Linked DNA regions of Homo sapiens: region 1 is linked to region 2. The links are contacts of gene promoters, found by promoter capture Hi-C in blood cells and fetal thymus (Javierre and others, 2016). All regions are on one chromosome and are shown on one strand. The core of a region is centred on a gene start or on the middle of the fragment in contact, and the rest is flanking DNA. Distances in the headings are between cores, read along the strand shown.

Region 1 (4,023 bases), core at 1,499-3,998, 510 kb after region 2:
AGTTACTTGTGGTCCCTTCTGCATCCCAGCACTCTGGAACTGGGATGAAGGTTGAAGGTTACGGCCTCCGATGCACTTGTGCTGCTGACTCGGGCCTCATTCTTCAGAGTTCCATTAGTGCAGCTGTACAATTCATACTTCACGCTCACTCACAAGGCCCCACTATAGTGATCAGATGAAAGGAATGATGTATGCTGTTTATTAGCTCTGAAGAACTTGCAGACATTTTCACCAGGCTGATAACAGGAAGGGGCTTATTGAAGTAGAGAAGCACCAACAAAAGGAGTAGGCATATCACCACGGCAACAAATGGATCCATCAAGAGCCACTGCTATTATCTCTGAGGGGGAAAAACTCTTGAGGCAACAAGGATTCATCTCAAATAAATAAATAAGCAAGCTACATTACAGGGGAAGGGAATCCCCTCCCCCTGTCCCGGCGCATGAGGCTATGTCAAAGGGCATAATGCAAGTTTCTGCTCACTTTAATATTATGAAGGTGAGAAATTGTCACTATGACAGGGTGAGGATACTCTTTAAACTTTGGAAGGCAGAAAGATCAAAGGTGGATGTCTTGGCTAGACTAAACCCATTTTATGATATGACTTATGGTAGGTCACTGGACTTAAAAACTCAGTGTTTCTTCTGAGTTGGGAATGAAACCCTGAGGTGCTCAGTATCTACCGTCCTGGTCAGAACAGAATGTAGGAGTGAGCTGAATGCAATGGGAGAGGAAAGGGCTGGGAGTAGTAGTCGGCTACATGACCACACAGCTGCCCTTGCCAAATGCTTAAGCAAATAAACATAAAACTAGAGAAAATCTTAACCACTTTCACAGTAATCCCTATAAGGAGTTAACTGTATAAAAATGATAAATACCTAAACAACATATTTGGTTTCTTGGTTTCAAAGTTTTAATATTTTATCCACTGGGTAAGTCAACAAATGCTTGATGATCTCCTGTATGGAGAGCAGTTAATATGAGCAGAGATGTGGTTTTCTCATTTGCTGAGCTTAAAAACCCAACTGAACCTACTTCCAAAATTAATTTCCTGTTCATATGTCCATAAGCCTATAGAAATGTAAATCAGATAATGTTTTGATAATCAGCTAACCAGGACTTAATTTACTACAGCAATAAATGCACTTCACAATCCCTTTTATATTTTTTCCACTAATACATTTTAACTGTGTAGAAATATAGTACTTCATAGGATTAACACACATATTAATAGAGGTTTAATCACTGAAGAAAAGCATTATGCTTACAGAATATGCATCTTCTAGGTTTTTTGTTTTTTTTTAAATGGCTAGGTGGCTGAATAGCATACCCTTTACAGGCACAGCAAACCGTCTGAATAGCAGCTGCTCAGTTTAACTTATTCTTTTAAAGGGAAATATATTCTAACAGGACATGTAGCTGTTGAAAATTTTTAAGAAAAACCTGATAGACACCAATTTAAAATTGTTTCAATTTAGACTCAAAATGAGACCACTACAAATAGTCAACAGCAGGGGGATGAGACAAATGTATATTAAACAGTTTGTTGAAATGCTTTCCAAAGATCATAAACAAAAGCAGCCTGTTTGTAGCATAGCTCCTGGTGCTTCCCTGGGCATACACAAACAGCACTATTTAGAACTGGTCTTCTTGGAGCTGGCCCCTGCCACCACTGCTCCTGAAGCTTACATCTGTAGAAACCTGCACATTTCCCTGCAGGTTCTCTGATACTGTATCTTGAACTAGAGCACCAGTCAGTTCAGTTGCAGGTTTTGAGAACATTTTAGCTGCCATCATGGTAGGGCTAAGTGTTCATAATAATAAATTTTGCTTCCTTCAAGAAACCAGTTTGCAGACGGATGACAGCAGTGATCAAAGTCACTTTAGTTTCTGCAATTTCCAAAAGTACTTCCATTTGTTTCAAATTCATTTGCTGTCACACCCTTTGCTAAAACGGCTACCAGCAATATCACTAGGGCTGTTCGGTAAACAGTAAAGTGGTCAACTTCACCAGAAGCCACTTCAACAGCTACCACAATTACTGGTTCCTTTTTAGTCACAAGTATCCTCACTTCAGTTGTGAATATATGGTATGGTAATTCTGAATGACAGTCATATGGAGTAATGGGCAAAGGCAATAAAAACAAACTCTTGCCACTGCCTGTCATGACCTTGATCTTCCTCTGCTGCTCAACATCATCAAGAGGTGCTCCTTCATATTTTTCTAAATGCCACCCACAAAGCCATTCTCACTGTCTGGTGGGCACCCTGAGAGCCTTTGCTGGAAATGCCTCCCTGGCTCAGCCTGCCTACCAAGCTCCAAGGCCCTTCCCTTCACGGCCGACACGAGGCCAGCCTGGAAGGAACCCTGATGAAGCTGCTGTTTCAGGGTCATATTGGTGCCATCTGTGAGGAACTCCATGACTCAGCAAGGATCCTTGCACTCTCATAGGTAACTCAAGGCCCCCAAAGTGGTGCTGTGGTTGTCCGAGTGCCCAGGGAGCCTCTCGAGTGTGGTGAGCGTTGGATGATGCCCCAGCAGTGCTTCTCAGACCGCCTGAGGGGAACGCTGGAGCTTCCTAACTCAGGAGACCAATTTCTAAATACAAAAAACACTCCTAATGGGGAGGGGTCAGGGGCACAGGGATCTTCATATCTCAAGGCTTCTGTAAAAACAGACCTTCAGATAAAATGTGGAAAGACTAGCAAAAGCAAATATACAATGTGTGACTCAGGTTGAAGCTACGTAACTTCTCAATAGTCCAGAGGCCCTAAGACCTAATAGTGGCCAAACAATTATTTCAAAGGCCAGACATATGCCCTTTAAGGGCTGTTTATACCCTACTGGTCACATGAAAAGATATAAATGAATGAATGAATGAATGAATGAAAAAGAGAAAGGAGCTTGAACTGGCAGATAACTTTTTAAAAGCCATAAAGAGGCCAGGCGTAGTGGTTCATGCCTGTAATCCCAGCTCTTTGGGAGACGGAGGCGGGCGAATCACAAGGTCAGGAGTTCAAGACCAGCCTGACCAACACAGTGAAACCTCGTCTCTACTAAAAATACAAAAATTAGCCAGGCATGGTGGCGCATGCCTGTAATCCCACTGTAATCCCAGCTACTCAGGAAGCTGAGGCAGGAGAATCGCTTGAACCTGGGAGGTGGAGCTTGCAGTGAGCCGAGACTGCATCACTGCACTCCAGCCTAGGCAACCGAGCAAGACTCCGTCTCAAAACAAAAAATAAAATAAAATAAAGATATTTACTGTGCTATGTTGTTCTGGTAGTATACTTGTAAGATTTTTGCCAAAAACCACCCAAAAAATATTTTTCAATTTATCAAGCAGATTATTACACATCAAAACCTACCAAGTAATGATGGAAAATATGAAGTTAGTTTTTTTTTTTTTGAGACAGTCTTGCTCTATTGTGAACTGTTATACTAAAGATAGACAGATATAGTCTTATGCCTATTTCCATTATCTGCATAATGTAACCTTTAAAAATATTCCTTAAATTGTTAACTTTATAGGAATAAGATACTGGAAAATGGTTAGAAAGTTCACCAAAACCTTACAAACTCACATGTCCTCAACTGTAATGTCCTTGAGGATCTGGCAGTAGTCCACATTCCATACAGCCTGATCGTCCCAAACCTTGGAGGCAAGAAGAATGGCTCCCAGAACAATCCTTTTCCAGTTGGTGGGACAAATGTCGATTTCAGCATAAGTTAAAAGCCTTTCTAAGTAAACCTGTAAAATAGAGCACTGGTCTTTGATTTTAGTTCAGTTTAAATGCTTTGATAAGCTTTTTTTTTTTTTTTGAGACGGAGTTTCACTCTTGTTGCCCAGGCTGTAGTGCAATGGTGCGATCTCGGCTCACAGAACCTCCGCCTCCCAGGTTCAAGTGATTCTCCTGCCTCGGCCTCCCGACTAGGTGGGATTACAGGCATGCGCCACCATGCCCAGCTAATTTTTGTATTTTCAGTAGAGACGGGGTTTCTCCATTTTGGTCAGGTTGGTC
Region 2 (3,121 bases), core at 1-2,500:
ACTTGAACCCAGGAGGCGGAAGTTGCAGTGAGCCGAGACTGCACCAGCCTGTCAGGGCAAGACTCTGTCTCATAAATAAATAAATAAATAAATAAATATTGGAGCATTAAATTCTGGGCAGCAATATACAAGCATGCTATTGTCCTACAAATCACAATATAAAATACTCTTTATTTTCATGTTTTTGAGAGCAATGAACACACAAAATATAATCTCTGGAGGAGACTAAAATTCTTTTTTCAATCCACCGTTTTCTAAGGCTTCACATCTCTAGTCCAACTTCATTGGATCACAGATAATCCCCCGCCAACTGAGCATGGTGGCTCACGCTTGTAATCCCAGGACTTTGGGAGGCCGAGGAGGGCCAATCACTTGAGTCCAGGAGTTCGAGACCAGCCTGGGCTGCTGAAACCCATCTCTACCAAAGGAAAAAGAAAAGAAAAGAAAGAAAGAAAAATTAGTTGAGTGTGATTGTGTGCACCTGTAATCCCAGCTACTCGGAAGGCTGAGGTGGGAGGATCTCTTGAGCCCAGGAAGTCAAGGCTGCAGTGAGCGGTGATCGCTCCACTGCACTCCAGCCAGGGCAACAGAGCAAGGCCCTGTCTTAAAAAAGAAAATAATAAGAATCCCATTCATTATCTTCTAATGCAAACAATCAATGGAGTTTCTAAAGACCTAGACATAGGTGGTGTCAGGACCTGCTTCTGTAACTTTTCCATCCTTTGCATTAGGCAGCGCGGAACCCCCTAGGCGACCCCGCGCTGGCCGGGAGCACTCTTTCTTCAGCCAAAGGTACGTTCCATTACCGCCCCTCGGGGGCGCGCTAGGCAGCGGGCCGGCCAAGCTGCCGCCGCCCAGGGCGCCCTGTCCCGTTCGCTTTTGTGCCGACCTGGAAACACTCTGTGGTGCTCTAGATTGTTACAAAGTTCGGGGTGGTGCAGCCCCAGCGCGCCCCGCTCCCCGGCCTGCAGGTGGCATACAAGTCTCTTCGCTGTCGGGATTCGGGACTGAATCTCTGCCGGGCGGCAACCCCTTCCCCCACCGGGATCACCGGGAAAGTGGCACCATGGATTCTCCATCTTTGACTGTGGCCACGCCCCTCTCGCTGACTCCGCCCATCCCACGGGAATTGGCGTGTGGCGATTGGAGGCGTGTCGGGGGCGGGGCTGGGGGAGGTGGGCTGAGGAGGCGGGGCCTGGGAGGGGACAAAGCCGGGAAGAGGAAAAGCTCGGACCTACCCTGTGGTCCCGGGTTTCTGCAGAGTCTACTTCAGAAGCGGAGGCACTGGGAGTCCGGTTTGGGATTGCCAGGCTGTGGTTGTGAGTCTGAGCTTGTGAGCGGCTGTGGCGCCCCAACTCTTCGCCAGCATATCATCCCGGCAGGTAACCTCAGGCTCCAAGGGGCGGCCCCGGTCCCTGGCTGTGGAGGGGTGGCTCTAATTCCGCAGAAGGCAGGAATGGGGTAAAGGAAAAAAGCGCAGATCTTGGGTGTGGAGGGAGTCAAGGCCTGCGTGCAAAGAAGGGAACAAATCCAGGTATTGAGAATGGGAAAAGAAAAGGGAAGGAGGGGATGCTGGATGCTTGGATATGCAGAAGGTCTGCTTTTGGGCCTGGGAGGGAGAAACTGGGCGGTGAGGAAGTTGGATGCAACGACAAGGGGAAAATCAGGTCTGCACTTGGGTTGGAAAATCGAGGGGTGGAAGTTGCAAGAATGCATGTAGAAGACTAAGCCTGGAGTGTAGGAGGAAGAAAACGTGCAGCAGCTGGGGGCTGGATGCAAAGAAGGCTGTAAGCCGCAGACGGGCGTCTGCAGGCAACTCAGGCGGCGAGGAATAGCCTTGAAGCCGATCCCTCGCGTCCGCCAGGGGGCGTGGAGGGGCGGAGCTCCAGCGGCCTTCAGAGGGGTCGCTAGGCCACACGGGGCGAGAGGGGGCTGGGGGAAACACCCCCGCCAGTTCCGGGTGCCTGGAGTTTAAAAGGTCCCAGCACCAGCGAGGGGAGGGGAGGGGAGGGGCGGGCGTGGAGACCTGGAAGGAGGTACCGATCCAGCCTTGATTGCAGCCCTCTTGCACAACGGCCATAAGGACGGGTGCAGGCCAAGAGCAAGGACATGCAAACCCCAAGACCTGCTAACGGGCGGCGAAGCGGGGGCACGCCCTCGCACACGCAGAGATAAATTGTGCTCCCATGACCTTTATTTGGAAAGTGCCTGCGGGCCTAAAATTGGCCTTTGTCCCACCGAGTACACTCAGCACTGTACTTTAAACCGGATAAACTGGGCTGTCTGGCAGGTACTAAAAACAGCTAAATTCTCCTGTGAGTGTTCTGTATGTTAACACTTTTATTCCTTGTTTTGTTTTAGGCGATAAACTACATTCAGTTGAGTCTGCAAGACTGGGAGGAACTGGGGTGATAAGAAATCTATTCACTGTCAAGGTGAGAATTAGCAAATTTTCCCCCTTCTTCTGTACTTTCTTTGATGTGGCAGTACAGTGTTTAACTGGTCTTGGGGGCAGGCCGAGGCACTGCAAGGGAATGAGTGAGGAATATTTCCAACAACGAATTCCAACAGCTTCCTTGTTTCTTTTAATACAGTGTCTTATCTGCAAGAGATCCTTTTTGCCCAGAAATTATTGTAGTTCATGAACTCGGCAAAAAACAATCTGGCCAAAAACTTGAGGTTGATGAAAATAATATTAAATGGCTCTTTTTTTTCATTAAACTACTCTGTATTGTTATTCCAGGTTTATTTTCTGGAATTGCACAATTATGTTAGGAGATAGGATTCAGCTACTTCATATGAGCTGGTGCCTGCTGGTCTTGGAACAGCCCTTCCTTCTGAAGTTGGGATTGGGTTGGAGACAAAATCTGAGGGGCAACAAAGGTGGAGAAGTCAGTCCAGTGGGGCCTCAAGCCCATCCCATGGAAATCAGATCCAGAAGAAATACAATTATGTTCCACATGGTAGTAACAATAAAGCTTCACTGTTTTAGTTAAAAGATGGTAAAAATTTCATGGCTAAGTAATGTGAGGAAAACCTGAAGCGTCTGAAGTATGCATTATGAGATAAAGAAAGATTACTGCAGAGAGTACAGTTGCTTTAACTGAGAAGGAAATAGTGA

What was found. The method cuts DNA at HindIII sites, captures the fragments that hold promoters and counts their contacts. A CHiCAGO score of 5 or more calls a contact.
Region 1: a contact is called between a fragment that was not itself captured here and the fragment with the promoter of IDH1 in region 2, in 6 of 17 cell types (megakaryocytes, fetal thymus, monocytes and 3 more). The highest score is 14.7, in megakaryocytes.

What each region holds. Positions count from the first base shown.
Region 1 is chr2:207,746,776-207,750,798 of GRCh38, reverse strand. CCNYL1 (cyclin Y like 1) reads right to left here. Exons shown (of 10, transcript NM_001330218.2): 8 at 3,586-3,752. Among named protein-coding and RNA genes, the nearest start is that of MIR4775, 6.0 kb to the left of the region's middle. The HindIII fragment of the contact is 2,123 bases long and covers 1,687-3,809 here.
Region 2 is chr2:208,253,200-208,256,320 of GRCh38, reverse strand. It overlaps IDH1 (isocitrate dehydrogenase (NADP(+)) 1), which reads left to right and starts at 1,250. Exons shown (of 10, transcript NM_005896.4): 1 at 1,250-1,382; 2 at 2,362-2,435. IDH1-AS1 (IDH1 antisense RNA 1) reads right to left here and starts at 1,088. Exons shown (of 2, transcript NR_046452.1): 1 at 890-1,088; 2 at 127-418. RefSeq lists an enhancer at 1,016-1,542 and a silencer at 1,996-2,105. The HindIII fragment of the contact is 4,060 bases long and covers 1-2,980 here.